Regions from separate parts of the Homo sapiens genome. Here all the other regions are linked to region 5. The links are contacts of gene promoters, found by promoter capture Hi-C in blood cells and fetal thymus (Javierre and others, 2016). All regions are on one chromosome and are shown on one strand. Each heading gives the region's core, a stretch centred on a gene start or on the middle of the fragment in contact. The rest is flanking DNA. Distances are from core to core; before and after follow the strand shown.

Evidence for each region. Contacts are between HindIII fragments. The CHiCAGO score rates a contact against its expected background, and 5 or more counts as called.
Region 1: a fragment that was not itself captured here is called in contact with the fragment with the promoter of DEPTOR in region 5 in 9 of 17 cell types (naive B cells, total B cells, naive CD4 T cells and 6 more); the score reaches 18.4 in naive B cells.
Region 2: a fragment that was not itself captured here is called in contact with the fragment with the promoter of DEPTOR in region 5 in 3 of 17 cell types (naive B cells, total B cells and non-activated CD4 T cells); the score reaches 7.8 in naive B cells.
Region 3: a fragment that was not itself captured here is called in contact with the fragment with the promoter of DEPTOR in region 5 in 8 of 17 cell types (naive B cells, total B cells, naive CD8 T cells and 5 more); the score reaches 16.0 in naive B cells.
Region 4: a contact is called between a fragment that was not itself captured here and the fragment with the promoter of DEPTOR in region 5, in 4 of 17 cell types (total B cells, fetal thymus, naive B cells and 1 more). The highest score is 8.5, in total B cells.

What each region holds. Positions count from the first base shown.
Region 1 is chr8:120,949,722-120,952,421 of GRCh38, reverse strand. No RefSeq gene overlaps it. Among named protein-coding and RNA genes, the nearest start is that of SNTB1, 140 kb to the right of the region's middle. The HindIII fragment of the contact is 2,603 bases long and covers 100-2,700 here.
Region 2 is chr8:120,965,899-120,968,598 of GRCh38, reverse strand. No RefSeq gene overlaps it. Among named protein-coding and RNA genes, the nearest start is that of SNTB1, 160 kb to the right of the region's middle. The HindIII fragment of the contact is 3,155 bases long and covers 1-2,700 here.
Region 3 is chr8:120,933,381-120,936,080 of GRCh38, reverse strand. No RefSeq gene overlaps it. Among named protein-coding and RNA genes, the nearest start is that of SNTB1, 120 kb to the right of the region's middle. The HindIII fragment of the contact is 3,249 bases long and covers 1-2,700 here.
Region 4 is chr8:120,913,781-120,916,480 of GRCh38, reverse strand. No RefSeq gene overlaps it. Among named protein-coding and RNA genes, the nearest start is that of SNTB1, 100 kb to the right of the region's middle. The HindIII fragment of the contact is 1,151 bases long and covers 714-1,864 here.
Region 5 is chr8:119,872,380-119,875,079 of GRCh38, reverse strand. DEPTOR (DEP domain containing MTOR interacting protein) reads right to left here and starts at 1,358. Exons shown (of 9, transcript NM_022783.4): 1 at 1,112-1,358. The coding sequence starts at 1,233. RefSeq lists enhancers at 621-670, 761-860, 495-995, 1,061-1,320, 996-1,496 and 1 more and a silencer at 1,340-1,512. The HindIII fragment of the contact is 2,864 bases long and covers 1-2,700 here.

The sequences.
Region 1 (2,700 bases), core at 152-2,651, 1.1 Mb before region 5:
AAACGTGAGGTAGACTTAAAGCAAACTGATGTAAATTTAATTCCTGGTTCTTCCAGCAACCTGTACTATTTGTGACAAATCACTTCATATCTCCAAGCTTTAAAACTTCTGTAAGTCTTACAAAATTAACCTTAAAAGAGGGAAAAATAGTCATTAGCCACATGAATGACCTCAAAAACAATTCAATACCTCCAAGCCTCACAAGTCTTTTGTTTTGTTTCGTTTTTCGTTGAGACGGAGTCTTGCTCTGCCTCCCAGGCTGGAATCAAGCAATTCCTTGCCTCAGCCCCCTGAGTAGCTGGGATTACAGGCGCCCACCACCATGCCCAGCTAATTTTTGTATTTTTAGTAGAGATGGGTTTTCACCATCTTGGCCAGGCTGGTCTTGAACTCCTGACCTCAGGTGATCTGCCCACCTCAGCCTCCCAAAATGCTGGGATTATAGGCGTGAGCCACTGCGCCCAGCCACAACTCTAAAAATCTTACAAAATAGGGCTAGGCACCATGGTTCATACTTGTAATCTCAGCACTTTGGGACGCTGAGGCAAGAAGATTACTTGAGCCCCAGCGTTTGCAGCTACAGTGAGCCATGATCATGCCACTGCACTACAGCCTGGGCAACAGTAAAACCCTGTTTTTAAAAACCATAAAAAAACTTACAAAATTAATCTAGAGAGAGAAAAGAATAGTCAACAGCCACATAACTGACCTCAGAAACAACTTTTACATATTTGATTTTCCTTAGATAAATAAGTATATAGTCTACATTATTGTGCATTCATTAGATTTTAAAGATAACATCAAGGAACATAAAACTCAACCTTATTTTGTTAAACAATAAAGATGTCTACTTTGTTCTATATAATAAACTGCCCAGGTAAAGGTTTAAATATAAGAGAAAAAAAGAAAAGTAGAAAGAGATAGAAACACCAAAAATTCTAAGAAAAAGGCAGAGACAAGCACAACGAAATTAAAAAGTCAAACCCAGAAAAACAAGCATCACAGAACCTGAGCAATACAGTGACTTCTATAGAATAGGAGCACCATCTTGTGGAAGGTAAGGATACTGCAGCTGAAGGCTTCTGATGCCTTACTCCATCTTCTCAACTATGCAACAATTGTAAACAGCAACATCACTTTCTTGGTACTTTTCCAATGAACCAAGTGAAATTAAGTAGAGGAACAAGACCCAATGTATGGACTGCAGGTTCCCCAATTCTTAGAGGAAATAATGGCTCATAGAATGTCTTCAAAACATCACAAATATGAGACACACATGAAAACATTCAGAATAAATCTAAAGGCAATGAAATTATAAGTGAGGCTGTCTTAATCTTAAGTTTTCTGTGACTTGTTTCACTGATCTCAATTAATTAGTGTATTTATTTGAATGTGAATATTTATAGAGTATATGTTATATACCCCAGATACCACTATGGCGGTGTGTGTGTGTGTGTTGCATGATTCCATTTATGTCAAATGTCTAAATAGGAAAATCCATGAGAAAGAAATTAGATTAACGATTTCCTAGGCTTGAGGTTTGGGAGCAAATGGTGGGGATGATGGCTAATTGGTACAGGCTTCCTTTTGGAAGTGTACCCTTTTGGGGGTGATGAAGAGGTCTTAAAATTGATGGCTGCTTGGGAGGCCAAGGCAGGCGGATCACCTGAGGTCAGGAGTTCGAGATCAGCCTGGCCAACGTGGTGAAACCCCATCTCTACTAAAAATACAAAATTTAGCCGGGCATGGTGGCACGTGCCTGTAATCCCAGCTACTCGGGAGACAGAGGCAGGAGAATCACTTAAACCCGGGAGGAGGAGGTTGCAGTGAGCTGAGATCACGCCACTGCATTCCAGCCTGGGTGACAAGACAAAACTCCATCTCAAAAAAAAAAAAAAAAAAAAAAAAAATTGATGGCTGCCATGGTTGCAAAGCTCATGAATGTAGTAAAAGTCACTGGAGTATTCACTTTCAAGGGGTGAATTCTATGGTAAATAAATTATATATAAATAAAGCTATTATCAAAACATGTATTTGTAAAGAAAATGCAGCAGAACTCATTGGGACATTTTTGAATATGTGTAATAAAGATAAAAATTTGCATTGATAAATATTTGTACATCATCCTTGTTAAAATATATGAATAAAATGTGTTCTGTGAAGGATTACCACTATTTGCTTGGTCTCTGTACCACACAGATCAGTCTGTACATATGATATAAAAACAAATTGTAATTTACTCCTACAGTCAAACAAATGTTGTTCTTTGACAGAGTGAACTCAAATCACTTACCTGTTTTGTGAAGCTGCCAGATACCACTTTGGGTGCTGGAGACACACCAGTGAATAATACAAGGGCCCTGGCCTTAAGGAGCTTTTGTTCCAGTGAGAGACAAATGATCAAGAAGCAAGTAATTGTAAAGTGCCATATGATATAAGATGTTATAATGCTAAATAAAGCGGTGTGGCAGACAGGAAGTGTAGGGATGAGGGAGGGGACTGCTGTTTTCTACAGAGTGGATAAATTAGTGAAAACTAAGCAGAGACATGAAATAAGCAAGGGAGTGAGTCATGTGGCTATGGAAGAAGGTAGAACCAAAAGCAGCTAATAAACGAGGTGCTTGGGCTCTGAAATCAGATATACCTGAGCCAGAATCCCAGCTCTGCCATTTACCAACTCTGTTACTTGAGCTCCCTAAG
Region 2 (2,700 bases), core at 81-2,580, 1.1 Mb before region 5:
CAAGGAATAAATAGGAAGGCCTGCCAAGCTCTTCAGTGTCTAACAAAGAAAATATATTTCATTATGTTGTCTTCTGAGCATATGGGAAATGTTAAAATAAATGAACCCAACAAATACTTGTAAGTCTCATTTCTTTTGCTTCCCTGCCCCCCAACAGAAAACACTCATAAATCATTCATTTTATGTAAAACTAAAATTATTACCTCCTACTTGGCTGCTTCTGACTGTACAAACTGGTCATGTTATGTCCAACTGTTCCCAGCATCAAGAATTCAGCTGGCTCTTGCTCTAATATGTCTTAAGTTCACTAAGTTTATGTTTCTCCCACACCCACTAGACAGAAAAGCTCTTGAGGGCAGGGGCTGACTTCTCTGTAACCTCAGCTCCTCCTTCAGTGCCTGACATACCGTAGGTGCTAATTCAATGGTGAAGGAATGAGTGAGGATTAAATAATTCTTTTACCGTATGCACAGCCAGATTTTCTTTTTCATAATTATCAAATATTCATGAGTAGATTTTTCCTGTTATCAATTTTTTCCCCAAAGACGGCAAAGACTGGGTTGGATGCCTTAGTTAGGCATCCTTTAGTTTTTTTATATCTATGTAACAAACTTCACCTAATACACAAATTTCATCTTTACACAGCTGTAGTGAATATTAAATGGGTTTACACATGTAAAGAGTTTAGCACTTACATGATATGTCCTCAGTAAGCTAAAGATTACTATTATTCATCCATAAGAGGAACTGTAGTGGCTCTGAAGTCAGATTACCTGGATTCCTATCCTAATTCTCCTGTTGCTGCTATGCGATGTGACTTTATCTCTATAGTGGAGAAAAGTACTGCTCATCTCATAATACTGTAGGAGTTTCACATGAGATACTCTGTATGAAAATAATGCAAGAAAATTAAGCACATGCACAGTGCTGGAAACATAGTATGCAAATAATAAATACTAGAAAATAAAAAAAAATGCAAGAAACATGTGTTAATCACTTGCTATATACAAGACACTAGGCTAGCTACTCTGGGGGAAGAGATGTAAGATAAGACCCAGTCCCAAACCTTATGGGGTTTAGATTCTCAGCAGAATCTCAATGTAAAGCTGTCAAGGGAATAGATGATAAAGAGGACAGATAGACTTCCCCTCTGTTGTTCTCCCAGAGCTCTGGGAAAACAACATAACTTTTCTGTCATATAACTGAAAGAAAAGGGATTTATACTGCAGCCATGTAAAAGGACCATCAAATGTCTCCTAACACTTTAACTATTAGATGTTAGTGGTATATAAATAATAAAAATAACAACCTGATTAAGCTGAAAATTTTATATTTGATTTCATTTAATCCTTACAACAAAATTGCAAAATAAGTACCATTACCCACACTTTACAGATGGAAGTTCACAGATGATACATAATTGCCCAGGGTCATATATTAAGTGTGGCTATACCTAACTGCTCTATAAACCCAAAAATGCACACTGGCACTAACACAATAGACGTTCATTTCTTGTCTACTAGGTTGTTGAAGAGGAAGGCAGAGACCTGGCTGCCAGAAGCTCTGTCAATTTCGATATTCTAGCAGAATAAAGAGGAGAAAGAGGATGCAGGAGAGTATCTGGGAGGGTTAAGGAACCAGGCCTGGAAGTGGTGCACATCACTTGTGCAAAGTTTCTGTAATCTAGAACGCAGTCACCTGTACACACTTAACTCCAGGAAGAAATGGGAAATGTGGAATCTGGCTAGGTAGACACTTCTCACGTATAACTCCTTACTGTTGAACAGGAAGCATAAATATCTGTGTATCTTCAGCCCTCTCTAGACGAAATATCTGTGTATCTTCAGCCCTCTCTAGACAAGAAAGTAAGTACCAAAGTCATGAGTGAAACTCAGGTTTATCTGACTACAAAGCTCATGCTTCTAAACAAACACTGGTAACCATAAGAGCTCCTGATGGTCCCAGCACTGCTCCTAAGTGCTGTATATGTTTCAAATCATTTCATCCTCAAAACAACTCTATGAAGAGATAGACTAAGAAAGCACAACCCAGAAGGATTAAGCAGCGTGTTCAGTTCCTTCATGAGAATTACATGAGAGAGTATGTGTGTGATCAGGGCTCACATCACCCCTGTCCCTGATCTTGTTTCCTCTTTTTCTTGTACTCTTTGTTTTATGTTTAATTGACAGATAGTTATTGCATGTATTTATGGAGTACAATGTGGTATTTTGATACATGTATACATTGTGGGATGATAAAATCAGGCTAATCAGCATATCTCTTACCACAAATATTTAATGTATCTTTGTGGTGAAAACATTCAAAATTCTCCTTTTAGCTTTGTTAAAATGTACAGTTTTGACCATTTCCCAGTACTGTTCCAGTTCTGTGTGCAGCCTGAAAGCCAAGTTCTGAGAGCTGCCTGGAAGAATGTCTTCTACCAGTTATCCCAGGAGCAGAACTGAGCTGTCTCCCACAGGATGCCACCAAAGACCCCAAGACATCCTATAGACAGTTATTTTGGCCTGTATGATACCATCACTTGATTTTCTCTCTTTACAGACAGTCCTTAATGTGGGTTATCCAGGAATCCCACAACAAAACATCCCACTGAGAGAAAAAGGTTTTGGCTTTGTACACAAAGATTTAATGTACTTGCAGCTTTTGGAACACAACATTTCTCTTCAAAAGTTTGCCATA
Region 3 (2,700 bases), core at 104-2,603, 1.1 Mb before region 5:
TCCCAGGATTCCCAATTGTATATGTTTGCTGACTTTAGTACTGATTAGTGGGTTTTGGTGATGTCTATCTGATCCCTTCATTGCAGAGTTTCTCATCAGTCTTCACAGTTTTAGCAGCCGTTGATGATCACCTCCTGGATCCATTATTTCATCACAGTTAGCAAAATGGATATTTCCTAATTCTATCAGCCCTCCAGTATTTATTAGTTGGAACTCTTTAATAAAGAACAATTTTTCCTCATCGTTTATCTGAAAACAACAACAAAAGCCAGATTAATGCCTGATTCTTTCCTTTTGTCTTTTTTCAGAATAGTGAGTTAGTGCCCACACAACCTTCAAATGAACTTGTGGATTTTGCATATTTAACATGTTTCAAAACATTGTAGTCACTATTTGCTTTTAAATTATTCGCAAGTTTTCCCAGTGGGAGCTCTTGTATTAGTCCATTCTCACACTACTAATAAAGACATACCTAAAACTGGGTAATTCATAAAAGAAAGAGGTTTAATTGACTCACAGTTCAGCATGGCTGGGGAGGCCTCATCATCATGGCAGAAGGCAAAGGAAGAGCAAAGGCACATCTTAAATTGCAGCAGGCAAGAGAGAAATGAGAGCCAAGTGAAAGGAGAAACCCCTTACGAAACCATCAGATCTCGTAAGACTTAGTCAGTACCATGAGAACAGTATGGGGGAAACTGCCTCTATGATTCAATTATCTCCCACCCAGTCCCTCCGACAACATGTGGGAACTATGGGAGCTACAATTCAAGATGAATTTGGGTGGGGACACAGCCAAACCATATCAGCTCCTTAAGCTGCCTCATATATTTTATGCATTGGGGCATAACAGCATATCTCAGGCTCATCTCAAATACTTCCTGCTCATGCTAGAATCAGCCATTTCTCCAAGGAGACCTGGTTCCTTTAACATGGAAATGGCATGTAGATATCAAATTCTGGGTACTTGGAGTGATTATTGCTACTGAACTGATCACAGTTCTAGGCCTTGTCAGTAGACATGACTGAGAAAATTGTAGTTTTAAGAAAAAGAAAAATAAACTATAAATTCATACCAATATTTCTAATTCAAAATAAGGACTACAGAGTTTTTAACGATTTTTTTAAGTTCATCTTTTCTTGCTCTGAAAATTTTATCTCCTAAGGATAATTTAATTGTTTAATTGCTTTATCCTATTTTAGATATAATAAACTCAATAAGAATGTAAATATCACCACTAAAAACTAGCCAACAAAATTCAATCTAAGATGTCTTTGTACTTCTTTTTGTCCTTAGGATATATCTCCCTAAGGACGTACAATCAAAATATGTGTTCTAAAGTCACTTAAAATAAGTCTTGAGATCATTATGCCACAGAATTGATGTATGCCTAAGTTCTTCGTTTTCAGTTTTAAATTTTTAGAAATTGTTATATTTTGATGTGGTTTTCTCTTTTGTTTTTAATCATGTAAAACATTTACATAATTTCAAAGTCAAAAAATAAAATAAAGTATGTGGAGAAGCATAACTCTTCTGTATCCCCTACTCACCTGCTTCCTCCATCCAACTATAGGTAAGCATTTTTTATTGATTTTTGTTTTATCTTGATATTGCAATCATAAACAAATATGTATTTCTTATTTCTTCTCCTTTCCTATCTACACTGTAGTATACTATAAATACAGCTATGCATTTTGCTTATTTTGCTTAACAATATGTCCTGGACATTACTGTATTTCAGGACATACAGATATGTTTCTTTTCAGGGATACATTATATGACATTGTGTAAATATCCCAATTTATTTACCTAATGTCCCTTTGATAGACATTTGGGTTTCTGGCCTTTTGCTAGGTGGTCTTCTACGTTTGTGTTATTTAGTCCTCCCTAGAGTTTTGTCAGTTTGGCTTACTATTCTCATGTTAAAAGGAGGAAACTGGTATATAAGCAGTTAAAGACTTGACCAAAGTCTTAGAATTAAGCAGGGAGAAGGGGAAAGAAGAATTCCCCTGCTTCCATAATTTCTGTTATTTGCACAAGTCCATGTAATTCATACTACATTGAAAATGTCTGTTGACACCTTTATTTTAGAGTTGGAGGAGGGAGAAGTAAGTATGTGCTTTGCAGTAGATTGTGGAGAAAAATTTAGCCTTAAGTTCAAGGCTGGAATTTCAGGCCTGAGCCAGCCTGTGGGGAGGGTGTCTGAGGGAACAGCTGGCCATTCTGGCTTTGTCCCCAGCTAAAGGCCTGCCAGACATCCACAAGCAGGTGTGTCTATTTTGGGCAGAGGGATCTTCTCAGTGTCTGGTAAATCACAACATGTCAATTCTATCACAGCGTGCTCTGAACCCTGGTGCTCCCCTAATAAATTCACCAAAACTCCCTTTGAAGGATAGAGAACAATCCATTCTCTACTGTGCCTCTTAACAGTGACTTCCCTCTTCTTCCTTCTTATCCTACAGACCAGTGAACAATTATATATACCAAACCAAACAAAGCAGCACAGCTTTGGGTCAGTAAAAACCATTTTACATACTTTTTAGAGAAGAAATTAAGTGAGATTTGGAGGAAGCCTTAGGACAATAACCAAAAACTTTCATTAATTTTCCCTTTTTATCCACCCAATGTTTTTAAGGGAAAAGATTAATTCCGAGGGAAAATACACCCCAATCACGTTATTTTAAAATGAGCATCTCAAGCTA
Region 4 (2,700 bases), core at 40-2,539, 1.0 Mb before region 5:
TGGATGAACAAACAGGATTGCAAACTCACAAGGTAGAGAGTCTGATTTGTTCAACTTGGCTGAGGTATCTCACGCTTATCCAATCAGCAGGAGGGGGCAGGGTCACATGTTCACCGGAGCCCATCAGTGAAGAAAAAGGGGTTTACTGCAAATATATGTATTAGACCACAGATTGCTGCACTCACCAGCATCTTTGAAATTACAAGATTCCCAGACATACTCAGATTTACCTGGGTCACTGAGTTTTATTGTAAAGATAAAACGGGACAAAAAAAAATAAAATAAAATAAACCCTGAAGCTGACTTAATAGGCTTGGAGCCAGGTCTTACAGAAAAAGAAGTTTATTCAGAAAACAGCAGTAGCACCAACATCTACTACACACAGCAAAAGTTCTGGCCACTTGGTCCTGTGATTAACCTGGCAACAGTTATCCAATTGGAATGTTCTGCCATTAAATGTTTCTTGATGAGTCCATGGCTCTGCTTCTACTTCTATTACTATGACTTAACTCTCTCTGTATCTTCTGTTCCAGTTCCCTAAGAGCAAGGACTTGTTGGAACAGTTGCCCTGTGGTTTTAGGCTTCCCTATTGAGGAGAATGCTTCTCAAGGTCTCCAGGGATAACCTAAAGAGGGTTGCCATTGCTCCAGTTCCATTTTTTCTCCAATCTGCTGAAGGCAACACAGTGGCGCTTTGAATAAAGGACTCAAGCTTTGTGCAAGGTGACTATTGCCAACAGGAGTCTAGAACTGGCCACAAATATATTTAGTTTGACTTGCACAACATTGGCTCACACAGTACTTATTTAAGTTTAATGTTTAAGCATGAATGATTTTTGAATAGGGAAATTTCACATAAAAACTCAGATTTCCAGCTTTCCTTGAAAAATTAGAAAGCCAAGAAACACTAGCCACAGTCAACAGATACTGAGTACTATATGAGCCATTAAAAAGCACCTGAGCTCTTCACCAGAGTCCCTACGTCGGGCTCCTGTCAAAGAGTTTCACTCACTTACCTGACCCTTGTGGGCACTGGAGTTGGAGAATGCTAAGGTAAGGAGTTATGTGCAGTTACTTTAATCAAAAGGGAGTTTATGGGGAGGCAGCCACTTGAAGAGTCACCACCTATAGTACTTCACCAATTGTAGATTCAGAAACTATGGCCAGTGTGATTTCATCACTGCTGGCAGCTCCTAGAGCAACTTTGAGACAGCCTCTCAATGCTGCTAGCTAGAGTCCCTGCAAGCTGCTGCCTAAACAGCAATTGATCCTTTACTTATCCTCATAGCTTAACCCAGATGTGACCTAAGCATTTTAAAAAAGAGGCAAGGATAGAGGAAGGAAGGCCTTCTAGCACATTGGCCCAATCCCATGTCACATCTTAGAGTTCATTCTTCTCTGCTCTAATAATGCCTATTACAAAACACAGTAATAATGGCATATCCTTGCCAAACTGCATGCTTCTTCTGGTTATCAGATGACCCAGAGGGGTAGATACACCTCATGCTGGTAAAATTGGACACTCACATTTGTTGTACTAGTACGTTCATGCTTCTCTCTTGAGACGAGATGCCACACAATGTAAGGTAAAAATCATTGTTTTACAGGCCAAATTGGTGTCTACCTATCTACCAGCCATATGATCCTGGGAAAGTCACTTAATCTGTTCCTGCTTCAATTTCTTTATCCACAAAATGTTGATAATATGTGTTTCAGTGGATACCCTGAGGATGAAACACAATGAAGGTGTACACTTACTTCTTCACCCCTTTAGGGAATGAAACAATCTCAAACTCAGCTGTTTTAATATTTAAATTAAAATAACCTCTCTCACCCCAGCCCTCATATTGTCATCATGAGAAGCTTCTTCTTGCCTTATTCAGGTTCCCATCCCCCCGAAGGCCTTCTGTAATGCAAGTGCTTTGTCCTGGTTTTCCAGAGAGAAGATCTGATCAGTCCTACCAGTGGCTGCATTTTTTCAAACCTGCTGCAGCTGTCAATGTCTTAAGGTGAAAGCCACGTGGCCTCAGTGGTGAACTCATTACCAAAGCATCCCACCATGCTGCCACATGCCCCTAAACTATGAAACCCAGGAGGCCCCGGAGCCTGCAGGCTGTGCCCAGCTTAGTGCAGCTGCTGTGGTCAGCAAACACACATCATGAAAGCAGGGAGAGGCCCTGTGGGTCCAGGAGGTAAATACCACTATGGAAGCATCATCCTCTGCCCCCACCTCATGGTTCAGCTTCTGATTTTACAGATTTTCAAGCTACCCAGCTCCTTTAACAGACACTTACAATCATCCACTTTCACAAATCACACACCCAATCCAACAAAGCCGAGTTTAAAAATGTTTCCCAACTCAAAGCACACGGTGGCAGAACCATTCTCATGGGACAAAACGCCAAGGCCCCCAAAGGTGGAGAATGCCCCTCCGCTCCTTCTCAACTCCTTCCATCTCCCACCACTGGAGGAGCTTGTTTCCTCCCTGGAAAAACATGGAAACATGAAAAGTCCCTGCCGATGCTCTTCTTCACCCTGCCTTGCAATTAAAGCCTCCCCTGTACCCCTTTTAGGGCCTCATACGTTTTAGACCACCCAATGACTTAGAGACAGGCTAAAATAGGAGCTATCTGACCATTCGAGTTTACATTTCTCGGCAATTATTTAGGACAGGTGTTGCTATGGTGCCCTGCCCTAAGGA
Region 5 (2,700 bases), core at 109-2,608:
TTTGCCTTTTGTAACATTAAAAATCAGTTAATTCTGACTTCCAATATTGGTCTCCTTCAGAGACCTTTGCAAGACACTCTTTCAGGTCCTGAAACACAGACATTTAGAAACCAAAACAAGCTGGGGAATTCAGGCTAAGAACTAGAAGTAACAGGGGCCCGCGTACAAGTTGTGGCTCAAACGCTGCAGAGCTGGGTTTTCTTTTTCCTGGCAAACTGATTTATAACCACACGAAGGGCAGCTGCAGAACCAGTTAGACCATAAGTACTATTCCCAAACAGCCCTAGAGGAAGGACCATACAGGGATGGGAATGGCAAGGGGGATTCTGGGGGTCGTCCTTGTTCCCAAGTTCCGTGAGACGCCGCAAGTCTTAATTCTTGCAGGAGCCAGGGTCCCCATGGATCCTGCTGCCCAAAACGTGCGAGCCCGGGGAGTTGGCACAGCCTCAAGGCAGCCCGACAAGGTGCCTCCACGCCCCCTTGCGGACCCAAATGATTGAGGACGATGTGCCAATTAACTGATAGGTGCAGGGTTTCAGAAATGCTCTCTCAGTTTAACCTCACAAAAAGCCCTTGAATCAGCCCTGTTTTACAGATGTAAAACACCGAGGCTCAGGGGAGTGAAGGAAGACTTGTCAGCAAAAAGGAAAACCTAGTGAAGACTATCGTTGGTCTTGCTCCTTTTATCAAGGAGTAGAGGGGCTGGGGTCGCCTCGGGACCCCACAGCGACCCCTCTTGCTCTCTTCGCGGATGAGGCGCAGGCTGTCAGCCGGGAGGCCTGGCGGCGTCCAGGTACACGGGAAGACGGACAGCGCGGTGGGTGGCAGGGACTTTGCCCGGCACAGGACTGCAGCAGCCAGGCTAGGGCGCAGCGCGCACCACCCGCTCGTCGGCTTCTGCCAGGCAGCCCCGCTTGGCGAGCGAGTCCTCAGGGACCGAGGCTGCAGCAGCTAAGCGCGGGCGCACCGAGGACCATCCACGCGCCCGCAGCCGTTCCGGCGCCCCACGCGAGTCGCAAGCCACGAGCCAGGGAGCGCGTGCGCGCAGGACTGCAGCGGGCACGCGTTGGCAGTGCCATCGTGAGCTCACCCGCTGTGTCTCTTGCCTTACCGTAGCTGTTCCCCGGTGACCAAGACCTCAGCCATGCGCTCCAGCTCCCTTTGCTGCGCCCCGCCACTCCCGCTGGTGCTGCTGTCACTGCCAGCACTGCCAGTGCTGCCGCCCTCCTCCATGGTTTTAGGGCCGTGCGGCTACCACTGGCTCCGCTGTCCGCCGAGGGTTTGGGTGCTCGGATCAGTCTGCCCTCACAGACGCTTCCCGCGCCATCTTTGTTCGGGGCAGCTCCGCTGCTCTGACTGGATTGGCTGGAGAGGGAATCCCTATGGGTAGGCAGACGCGCTGGGCTAGTCCGGCCCCAGAAACTTGAGCTTGGGGGCGTGGCTAGAGCCCCTCATGGTCGGGGGGCGGGGCCGATGGAGGAAAATATAAACATCTGGGCGGGGCGCTGCTACTGAGCTGTGTGTGCTGCTGGAGGCTGAATTTGGTGAGCTCTCTTTACCCACAAAGCTCATGCTGTAGAATCCTGGGGACAGGCCTGGAGGTTATTAGTGTGAAGGCGTTTTTATTGTACGTTCCACACCCCAAGTTGCCAGAGAGCAAAACATAATTCAACAATCTGGCCAAATGGTCAACAGTGAAGGTTATACATGTCATTGAAGGGCATGGAGAAATTAAACATTCTTCTCTCCCCAACCTCTCTCTCCAAAGACGACTTGTTTGCCTTATGTTGTAATCAATAAGGAACGCCGGCCTAGGAATCAGGCTGACCTGGGATCCAGCTCCGCTCCTGTGATGTCCTATTTAAATGTGTTTAATCCTCCCTTACAAAATAAAAATAATTGCGGCTACCACTTTTGACATCTGCTGCATTAAAGATACTTCAGGTATGGTATTACCTCGTTTAATTATTACAATAATTCATAAAATAGGTATTGGTGTTCGTTTTGCATTAGAATGCAGGCTTGGAGAGGTGAAGTTACTTGTCTAAGGCAAGCAAATAATAAGTATAAGAAGAGCCGGGCACCGTGGCTCATGCCTGTAATCCCAGCACTTTGGGAGGCCGAGGCGGGCAGATCACCTGAGGTCAGGAGTTCCAGACCAGCCTGACCAACATGAAGAAACCCCGTCTCTACTAAAAATACAAAATTAGCCGGGCGTGGTGGTGCATGCCTGTAATCCTAGCTACTTCGGAGGCTGAGGCAGGAGAATCGCTCGAACCCGGGAGGCGGAGGTTGCTGTAAGCCGAGTTCGGGTGAGCGGAGTTAGTGCCATTGCATTCCAGCCTGGGCAACAAGAGCGAGACTCCGTCTCAAATCATCATAATAATAATAAGAAGAAATCTAACCGAGGCAATTCTGGCTTCAAAGTTATGCTTTGAAAAGACTGAAAGACTGCCTCTTAAAATGGGGATACAATGGTATTGTCTATCCGTAAAAGATTATGAAAAGAAATTTGATTAGTACCAAATAAATGTTCTGATTTTCTGTTTCATGCAGAGTCGGAGTTGGTCTGCAGGAAGGCGAAGTAATGTTTATGGCAGTATTCATGTGTGTTGAGCATTTATTCTGTGCTTTACATTGTGCCAAACACTTTATCCTCACAAAACCCTGGAGTTTGGTATTATTTTCAACTTACAAATG